Regions from separate parts of the Homo sapiens genome. Here region 1 is linked to region 2. Evidence: promoter capture Hi-C in 16 types of primary human blood cells and fetal thymus (Javierre and others, 2016). All regions are on one chromosome and are shown on one strand. Each heading gives the region's core, a stretch centred on a gene start or on the middle of the fragment in contact. The rest is flanking DNA. Distances are from core to core; before and after follow the strand shown.

Region 1 (5,046 bases), core at 2,146-4,645, 52 kb after region 2:
TCTCAGGCTAATCACATCTTAGCATTTATTGGTATTTAACACAAATCTTAAGAAGCAAAATTGTTGCTTTGTGCTTTGCATAAGAAGGACCTGTCAGTTTAAATCTGCATCTGACATCCTTTCTGTCCACTCCTCCTGATTTCTAGGGGCTGAAGCAAACAAGATTTCAGAGGACCTACCTTCACTCCCGCTAATATCCCAGTGGTTGACACGCTGAAGTCCAAGTATGCGAGGACATCGGGGGAGGGGGGCCTGAAAACGCTTGCTATCTTCTTTTTTGGGATGTCATCTGTTAAACAGGAGACACCAGCAACATTAGTGTTCCCACATGTATTCTGAACGCTCTGGGCTTTCACAGGCAAGAGGCGACACATGATTTGTCCTTGGGAGTCCTGCAGAGAGTGAGCTCAGACGGGAGTGGGGCCGTGACGATGCAGGCTGTGCGTGCTCAGGAAAGCGTATTTCATTCTTCATGGAAACGCTACCCGGTCCCACCAAGACCACACTGAGCCTGTGGGGATGGGGGACGAGGCAGGGCGAAGAGGGGAGGCATCACGTCACTGACCAGTAGGAAAGATTAGAGGACTAGGGATTTGCCAAAAGTCACAGAGCCTATGGCAAAGCCCAGATGAGCCGAGTCCCGACCACAGCAAGAATAGCTGTGGACGGGCTCTGGGTTCTGCGTGCTTCATCAAGTTCTCGTGGCCCCATGAGCCAGACACCACTGCCTCCCTGGGTGCAACTGGACACAGGCTCAGCAGGGCAGGCACCGCTCCCCTTGAGGCAAGCCCGTGAGGCTTTGGGGCCCTGGCCAGCTGTTTGGCTCTGAGCCTGCCCTCCCCTACACCAGCTGCCCTGGCCCAGCCCCATCCAGCCCAGGCTGAGACAGGTCCACGGCAGAGGGGAGCCAGGGGGGTTTCTGACCCTCACCCTGTTGGCCCTCAGCATTTCATGGGGCATGACAGCATTCACCAATGATGGGGACAGGGATGCTGGAGTGGCGGCATGCGGTGGGAGCTGTGTCCTCAAAGCGTTTGCAGAAAGCCTCAGAGAGCTGCCAGCCCCCATGCCAGTAGGAGGCGGGTGAGAGGGGCAAGGCTGTGCTCCACACCACTTGGGACTGGGTGCGGCTGCTGTGGGCTGAGTGGAGCGTGGGTTTACACATGGGACAGGGACCCCTACTCCCCACCAGGGCCCGGGGCACCCCCTGCTGTCAGCCAGGCTCCTGCCAGGACTGCTCTTGCCTCACGTGTGTTTTTGGACGGCAGCCAGGCCACACCACACCTACAACAAAGAAAGGAAAAGGGACTGGTCCTGGGCAGTGCGAGGACACGCACCTGTGTCTAGGATGGTGGGCCAGGTCCTGATGTCCACGGCAGCAGCAGCCTCCTTGGACCTGAGCAGCCGTGTGACAGCCTGCGTGGTGAGGACGCATGCAGACTTGCTGACCTGCATGGCGAGGGGCCAAGGGTGGGTGGGCGGGGCCTCTCAAGCTGCCCAGAAAAGGGGGCAGCGGAGGGCAGCCTTGCAGCCTCCCACTCACAGACTCTGACCCGCGGGCCAGGTAGGCGCACCTCCACGATCATCTTGACGGTGGGCAGTGTGGTGCCGAGGTTCTGAGGGTGCGGGGGCCGCACGGTGACAGGCACGCAGCCACAGTACAAGCAGCCATAGAACGCGGCAATGAGGTCCACCCCTGTGGAGACAAGGACTGGCTGTGAGGAGGCCGGCCGCAAGAGGCTCCCACCAGCCTCTGTTCACTGTTCCTGCGAGAGAGGAGGGGAGGTGGTGCTGGGGGGGCATGGGTGACTCCTGGGTTTCCACAGGGGTAGCTGAGCTGAGGAGGCAGACACATGCAGAGAGGAGGGGCTGAGCTTAGTTTTGGAAGATGCTTCGGGGAGGGAGTGTCTAGGGGGCTGCTTAGGATAGGAGGCTGCTTACAAAGAGCTGCAGGTGGACAGCCCCACAGTGAGCCCACCTGGTGGGTAGACCAGAGCCACATGGTCCCCAACACTCAGTCTTCCCTTCTCCATCAGAGCCGCGGCCACTCTCTCAGCCCTTTTGTGCAGCTGGACACAGGTTGCAGTGCTTGTGACGGTGCCCTAGGAAAGCGATCTTTGAGCTCATCTGTATGCTGGTGCGTGCAGGTGGGCTGTTCGCAGATCTGCGTGCACACCACCTGCACGCCACTGCACACGACACCTTGTGATTAGCGTCCATGATAATGACAATGTGTCAGTCCTAGACGTACGGCTGGTGTCTTTTTTTTGGTAGAGATGGGGTTTCACCATGTTGGCCAGGCTGGTCTCGAACTCCTGACCTCAAGTGATCTGCCCGCCTCAGCCTCTCAAAGTGCTGGGATTACAGGCATAAGCCACCGCACATGGTCCACGACTGGTGTCTTTTCTCACCATCTGTACTCTCTCACTAGCAGTGAAGGGACAGGCATGCAAGTATCTCCTGTGTGGTCCCAGCTAAGAGGGAGAGATGCGGGCACTCCATTCACCCAGGGCAGAGCCAGAAACACGTGGGTAAAGAAGACCTTTCTGGCCTTTTCAATAAAATATTCCATACGACACCATTATAAATACATAATAAGCGATAAGCAAACATCCCTGAATTGTACTACTTTCCATGCCCACAGGTCACCTGCACTGAGCCTGGGCGTGTGTCATCTGCAACCGGCTTTCTCAGAGGCATCTGTGTGTCTCCTCTAGGACTGACTACACCAGCTCCTTCATTCACCCTGTCTCTCTGCTGAGGGGCACTGGGGCTATGTGACCAGTTCAAGGCAAACAGAAATACCTGGTAACCCTACCTCTCTGCTCAGGACACTCATCCTCCCTGATCCCCTGCCAGGCCTCGCAGCTTTTTTAGTCCTTCTTAAGAAGATAAAAAGTGCAATTCAGTCTAATAAATATAAAACTCCAGAGCAGACCAGTGTAACATCAAAACTCCCTGTTTCTCGATTGGTGGCTTCTACTGACAGAAGGCAGTGGAAGAGAGAGACCAGTGGACGCACTTATGTGCTGTGTCCAGGCACAAGGGCTGGGCAGATCCTGAGATTCCAAATCCCGGAAGCTTTGCCAGTCCATATGAGTCAGGGCCCCATCAGGACAGAACCTGAGATCTGGACTGGGACTCAAAGCCCGCAAGGTCTGGGATCCCACTGCATCCTTAGGGAAAACCCAGCGACCCCCAGCCTTATCTGCATCCCCTACCTGGGACCACCTGGCCCCCACCACACTGGCCTCCTTTCCTGCCTTGAGCCACTGGGCATCATTCTTCATAGCCCCTGCTACCCAGTTCCATTCAAAGCCCCCTCCCCAGCACTCCAGGTTACATCACTCCACTGTATTGATACTGAGGTTCACACCATAAGCTGATTTTACCTTGGTCAATGATAAATCACTGGCTGGTTTGTAGGCTTTAGAACTCAATCAATCATAAAATAAATGTTTACTGGGCATGGTTCTAGATGCTTCCAATACACCAGAAAAACAAAGTCTCTCTCCTACGGAACTTGTTTTCTAGCAGGAAAGACTGATTTTAAGCCTCCTGAGAGTAGGGGTCCTTTTAATCTTATTACTGTGCACTGTGCACATTGTAGGCATCATTAAGTATTTTTTTAATTCGAATGAGCAGCACCAAGAGCTAGAAGAGCATATTCTAAGCCACAGTGACCTACTCTTTACGACACCAAAGCTTAAGAGTTCTTACAGCTTGTATGGTGCGTGGGACAGGAAGCCTTGCAGGGTTTTAAGTTATTTAACTTTCTGTGTTTCCGCATTTCGCATTCCTGCCCACAACCTGAATATGAAGATTACAGCTTCTCCTTCTTGACATCCTGAATGTTCCTAGCACAGTGGAATGCACACAACAGGAACTTGAAACACATGAGAATTTCCAAATCAGCAGCAGGAGCAGGGCAGGAAGCAACATTTGTCATTTAAAAGCTGTAACCAAATGTAGAAATTCTAAATGGCTAATTTTTTACAAAATAAACATTTCCTTTTAGCTCACAAACTTAGGAATATTTACATGTATACTGTTTTTAATTTTAAAAACTTGAGCTGATAAAAATTTTCCTGCTAAACACAAAATCAATAGAAATACTATTGTGTGAAATGTGTGGAAAACAAGAAAGGAAAGGGCAGGCAGCGAGAACCGCACCAGACAAGGGGGCTGAGTCCACAGGCACCCTGCTCTCTACGCATGAGAACAACCAGGACGGGGGCTGAGTCCACAGGCACCCTGTTCTCTAAACATGAGAACAACCAGGACACTGGCACCATGAACTAGACAAGCAAAGGGCTCCACCGGCCCACAGGTGTTTCCAAGCCCCGTGGGCGTGACACTGCCTCACCTTGGCGTTCAGCAGCAAGAACAGCGGGTGGTCAGGAGTGGTGTGGGCACGCCACTGCAGCACGTCAGCCAGGAACAGGAACTGCACGAGAGGGCGACTTGCTCACTGGCGCCTCCGGGGCACAGACACCCGTCCACCCGTCCCCGGAACTGGCCTGTCACCTTCCGTGCCTGGTCGCTGTCCTCCAGGTGGGCGAGCTCTCTCCCGGAAGCCTGAGCGATTCTCTTCCCAGCAACCAGGTTCCCCACGATCATTGAGGCTGGTCCAACCTCTAGAAACGGGGGAACTCTGAATGAAAAGCTGGTGACTTCTCATATATAAACATCACGTGATTTTATTTACAATTTTTATTTTGAAAACATACTTGAATGAGGCATTTAACTCTTCTACTGAGATACAAATATTCAGAAAGCTAGCTACAAGGTTTATGCTAAGTGACAAAGAGAATTTCTCTCTTGAACATAAACTACGCCTTATTGAGAAGTTTACTACACGACGCATCTCAGAGGATACGATTTGGCCTCAGTCACAGCAAAATTCTTAACATATTTTGTTTTACTGTACTTTATGTATAAATCAGGAAATTAAATCTTCCTGATGAAATGTATTTAGTGATATGTGTTCAATAATTAATAAAAAAAAACTTTGGCATGTACTAAAAATCAACAGGACCAAAGAAA
Region 2 (5,409 bases), core at 2,116-4,615:
GCTACAACAACAGAGAGTGCAGACATCCCAATACCCAAACACTATACGCTTTCAAGATAACAAGAGCTATGCTTTAACGTACGCACACACTAAAATCTTAAGGATAGTTTTCTTTGAATCAATAGAATAATAAATTTTGCCACGCTGTCTGCTCGCCTGCATATAGTCACAGCTTAGTTTAATCTTTACATAGACAAAACAGCTATATATGCACTTAAAGACAGTGCATTCCTCTACTTGCTTTCTGAGGATGCCCTACTCTGTAATGGAATGTAAGAGCTTTCAATAAACTATCTCTTCTCACTTCACTCTGCAACTCACCTTGAATTCCTTCCTGCGTGAGATCCAAGAATCCCCTCTTTACATCTGGATCGAGACCCCTTTTTCTGGTAACAATATGAGTTCTGCACAGGCCAAAGTGGCCAGTTAAATGGGTTTGTAAGAAGTGTCACAGTGCCTGCTTATTTCAACCCTTTAATGGTGGCATTAATCTCCAAAGCTCTTTCAGAGATTCAGTATTTCTGGATAAGAAGGGGAAGTTCTGGGACTTTCACTAAACTTCTCCTACCATCATGGTCCTCATCTCATACGTAAGAGAGCCAGTGAGGGGATTTAGCTAGTGTATGTTTGTTTCAATTATACAACCAGGAACTGAAAAACTAACTATAGGGAGAATAGTGTACCAACTGGGCCCCCTGTGAGTCGGTCTCATGTTAGAACCTCTATCAAGTGAAGAACTGACCATCACAAGTTTCTGCTTTGACTGGTGAGCCACAGTGCCATTTTTGGTTCCCAGGAATTTATGTCAATTGAGGCAATCCCTGAGACATCTAGGTTACTTCCTTTTCATTAGTTGATGGCTGCAGGACACTTCAGAAAAGGTGTGGAAGAGGGTTTATGGTATTCTTTCTCACTAGCACAGATTCTTTCTCAAGGGGCCTTGGCTTCTCCCTTCAATCAAGATGCTCTAGGTCTGACCCAACTTAGGTCTGGAAACTCGGAGAGAGCCCATGATCTCCACTGTGGTGATTCAAGTTAGGTACTTCGGTGACCAGACCTAGAGGTTTTCCTGTTGTGTGGATTAAAGACTACTCTAGCGACTGTCCATCTCTTCATTCTAAGGAACACTGTGAGCAATTCACCACTGCCAAAAATCTCTGTGGACCAAGGCATTCTGATTATCGGTGTGTTCCTTCTGCTGTTTATGGCTGACATGCCCACCTTGTCTTAGCCTGCTACTCTGAAATATTATCGTCCCGCTGAAATCAGAGGTCTAGTCTAGCAATCCACATGGTCATATGTAGGCTACAGACCATGGAACTTTTCAGGTGTTCCACTCACTCAATAATGCATTTCTCATTACTTAGCGAAGGGTCTTCCTGTGGAATGTAGCTGCAGGGGGTGGGTGAATGTGGGAGTCACACATGATTGGATCTGGTGGCTGTCCAGTCTAATGGGATAAGATTAAAACTGAGGGGTCAGGACAGGTAAGCCAGGGTGATCAGGAAGTGTGAAGGTCAGGGAAAAACACCCAGAACAACCCTGCAAAGTAGGGACTACGGTCACCCCTTTCACAGAAAGGCTTAGGAATTTATCCAAAGTCAAACCACTGTTAAATGGTGGAGCCAAGATTCAGACCCAGCAATTGTAGGAATCTGTGGGAAGCTGGTGAGGTTGTATCCACGAGCTCCTGGGGAGCCTGGGCAAAGAATACCATCCTGGGGCCCCAGAGCGCTTGAAAGCCCTTTTCCTCCCTGTGGCAGATCCTCTCTCTCAGCCTGCTTCCAAGACCTGGGAACAGGGTGGACCCACGGCCCCACACTTGCCATCCCAGGAAGCTGCAGTGTGCAGAGGGCAGGCCCGGCTGGGCCCTCCTGCTGAACGCAGTGCCCTAAGCACAGGTGTACGGTCATTGCATGAGTGGATTTCAAACTATTTTTAACCCCTGCAGGAGCAGGCTAGAGCGTTTTCTATGGACACTGAAGGGTTAATCCAGAGCTCAGGCTGCCACTCTGGGGAAGTGGTCAGCACTTACAGGAATGGTCCCTCCAACATCTGAGCGAGGAAGGGGCACAGAGCACAGTTGTGCCTTCCTTGGGCCTGGGCAAGCTCTGTGCTTCACAGAGCAAGCCTGTGTCAGATCCTTCAGCAGAGACCACAGCCAGGGGTGGTGAAGCCGATGAGGAAGTGAGGGCCAACCACACTGCTCAGGCTGTTCCTCACAGGAGGCTGGGGCAGGCTGAGCCACGCAAGACCACAGCTCTCAGCCCTGTGCTATTTCCAGGGCACACTTACAGATCCTGAATGGTAGAGAACGTCCTGGATAAAACAATGACAGCAAGACAGCCATGTACACAGATATCTTGTGGGAAACCCTTTCACGGCCACTTTGAAACTGGGTTGGGAGAAGGACGTGATGCTGGGTCAGGCATCCATTGGGGACCATGGACATTTTTGGAGAGTTTGGGCCAATGTTCTTGTGTAATTTGTCAGAAGGAACACCTACTTCTTCATTCTTGTGAAGAAGAACCCATAAACTGGCCCCCGTGTTCAGAGGCTCCAGTCGAGCGAGTTGAGGGGACAGCTGGACTTCTCCTTCCTCAGGCTGGCTGGAGGCTTCAGCAAGGGGGCACACCGTCCACACGCCTCTGTAAAACAGCGTTCGAACGGGACATCTCTAAGGCATCGTCCAACTCTGAGAGTCTGTGACCTTCCACCCTGGGGTGGAGGGAAAGGCCTTGGGATACAGTCCACACATCACGTTTTCCCCTAAAAGTACCACCCGTTTTAGTCCCTGCAGACACTGGCCTCAGCAGCTTCTCTGAGGCAGCCCCGTTGAGCCCAGGGCTGACCACAGACAAGCACTACTGTCCACAGAACTTCACGCCCAGTGGGGCCAGACTTGGAGGATGGCAGAGGAGAGAAGCTCCAGGGGCCTCTCCATTAGAAACCAACTTGCAGGCCACTTAATCTCCTATGCTCAGCCTGTACTTGGAAGCTGCTTGTTCTTGGCTGCACATTTGCTTTGTTTGAATCAATTAATCCAAGTCTCTCTCCTCTCCCCACCCCCAACCTTGCCTTTAGGGTGACATCAATATTCATGTAATAAAGAAATCGCACAAAAAGCTGACTCCCCACTTCCTGCCCTACAGGCCCTTTTTTCTTCCTCAGCCCATGTGCAATCCTGGCTCCCAGCAAGTCCCCGGGGCTGCTTGGTCAATGCAGCCCTGTGTGCAGGCCTGGCAGCCCTGCCACCCCCGCCTTCGGCTCCCATTGGCTGCCACGGCCTGCAGTGGGCTGCACCAGGGTTCATCCATCCTCCCTGGGCAGAGGGAATAAGAGGCTGCCTCTGCCCACCAGTCCTGCCGCCCAGGACCCGCAGCAGAGACGACGCCTGCAGCAAGGAGACCAGGAAGGGGTGAGACAAGGAAGAGGTGAGAAAGAGCCAGGCCAAGAGGACGCTCAGGAAGAAATGGTTCTTTTCTTTTGGGTGGAACGGAATGGAGGGGTAGAAACTAAGTGGTAGCTTAAAAAGCCCCTTTAGGACAATTGGCAGCATTTCAGAAGTGTCAATAGGATGATGTGTTTTAATCTCCACATTACTGCTGCTTTGTGGACACCTGACTGCATCAGCCCTAGACAGCTAGAGGTGTGTTTTGCCATAAATCAGAGAAACGTCAGGTTTCATGGCCCAGAAGTGATTGTTGACATTTTCCCAGCGGTACTACAAATACTGCCTCTTCTGTAACTATTTGAAGAGTAAAGATTTTGCTTCCCACTGGGGCTAAAAATGATGGAGAACCTAATGCTAGTTTAGTCCTATATCATAAATAAATGCTTCCCTTTTCTCCTTATATTTCTTCCACCGCCCTGGGTAAGTAACTCTTCAGTTTTCCAGTTTCCCTCAGTTTGAAGTGCCAGGGTCCCCACAGCCCCAGGACGCCACTCAGAAATTACGTAACAATTACAAATAAATTGGGTCAAAGAAATCGGGGTTTTGGTGGGTTTTAACTTTCCTCAGTCTCACAGTTTCTCAGGGAGGTCGAACCCCTTCTTTAGAGGGATCCTCACACGCTAGGTAACTTGTCTTTCTAAGGAGTTAAAGTTCAAAAGTTCTCTTGTTCTCAATATTAAAAGATTAATGTAGGACATTCAAAGAATGTGAGAAAGAAACGGACATTTATTTCCATTTCTCTTAAAAGATAAACTATAAACCATCAACTATTTCTTAGGTCAAAGGGAAAAATTTAACAAGAATTTAATTGATTTGTAGTGTGGTTATGAAGAAAACCATATTTTCTAGTGGTTTCTATTAGTGTTCTAATATATGGGATACATGTTTTATGCCTTTCCTTTGTAATAATCCCATTAGTCACAATTCATAGAAAAACAATTTAACCTCCTTTTCCCCAAATCATCATGGACTTTGAGGAGCATCAGAATGATGTAAAAGTGTCTTGTTTTGTTTAAAAAAATACACACACATACAAACATGCATATATCAATAATTGAAAACTTGAGTGCAAAGAATAAGAAAGCATGAAATGTTAAAGATTTTAATCCATCTTAATTGTTCTATTTGTGAATTATCAAATTTTTAGGGACTCAAGAGCAAAATAAAGTACACTGATTATTAATAGAATGACTTTAGCAAAGATCTGGCCAGTATAAAAAAATCTTCAATCCTGTTTCCTTCGGAGGATCAGAAATAAATAAAATAATTCCAAATTATTTTTAAGATGTAAGTTATATATTCAACATGGGAATGATTTTTCAACACTATTTGATTTATTAATTTGTTTTTAATTATGACAGCGCAAACGTTCTTATTTAATGATTAGAACTCAAGGCCAAAAGCTGGTAAATTTCTCTGACTGCGCATCTGTTTTGTGAAACAACTGACAAGGCAACCTTTGTAAAATGCGCCTCATTCCCAGACTGACCAGATATTTCCTTGGTTCGTAGGCTGTGGCGTAAGGTACTTGCTGTGAGGGAGGTAGGGGGGCTCTTACTTTGACAGCTGCAGAGAAACACCTATTCCTGCCCCCACCCCCTCCCGCCGTCCCAGTCACTGCAGTGAATGAGCCACCCTTTCGGTACACTGGAGGTGGAATGCAGGCTCAGCAGCTCAGCTTTCTGCTGGATTCTGTCCCTCCCTGCGACAGAACCACACCCATTTGATCAGTTAAACTTAGGATACATTTTTTTTTCCTGGTAGATCAAATAACTTTCACTGTTATTCTTCAAAAAGATTGCGGCAATTCTACCATATTTATTTTTCCTGATGAATTTTACAGCTGTTTTTGTCATGTCACCCATCCAAAAAAATTCCATTGTTTTTATTAAAAATGATTTAAATTTACATATGAATTTAAAGGAAAAACTTCCTACATTTTATGTTCCTCAGAA

What was found. The method cuts DNA at HindIII sites, captures the fragments that hold promoters and counts their contacts. A CHiCAGO score of 5 or more calls a contact.
Region 1: a contact is called between a fragment that was not itself captured here and the fragment with the promoter of S100B in region 2, in 2 of 17 cell types (naive CD8 T cells and naive CD4 T cells). The highest score is 5.7, in naive CD8 T cells.

The regions. Positions count from the first base shown.
Region 1 is chr21:46,551,225-46,556,270 of GRCh38, reverse strand. It overlaps DIP2A (disco interacting protein 2 homolog A), which reads right to left. Exons shown (of 38, transcript NM_015151.4): 24 at 4,528-4,637; 25 at 4,367-4,447; 26 at 1,979-2,102; 27 at 1,575-1,696; 28 at 1,338-1,449; 29 at 180-289. Among named protein-coding and RNA genes, the nearest start is that of S100B, 51 kb to the left of the region's middle. The HindIII fragment of the contact is 624 bases long and covers 3,084-3,707 here.
Region 2 is chr21:46,603,038-46,608,446 of GRCh38, reverse strand. It overlaps S100B (S100 calcium binding protein B), which reads left to right and starts at 3,365. Exons shown (of 3, transcript NM_006272.3): 1 at 3,365-3,434. RefSeq lists an enhancer at 1,826-2,327. The HindIII fragment of the contact is 9,714 bases long and covers 1-5,409 here.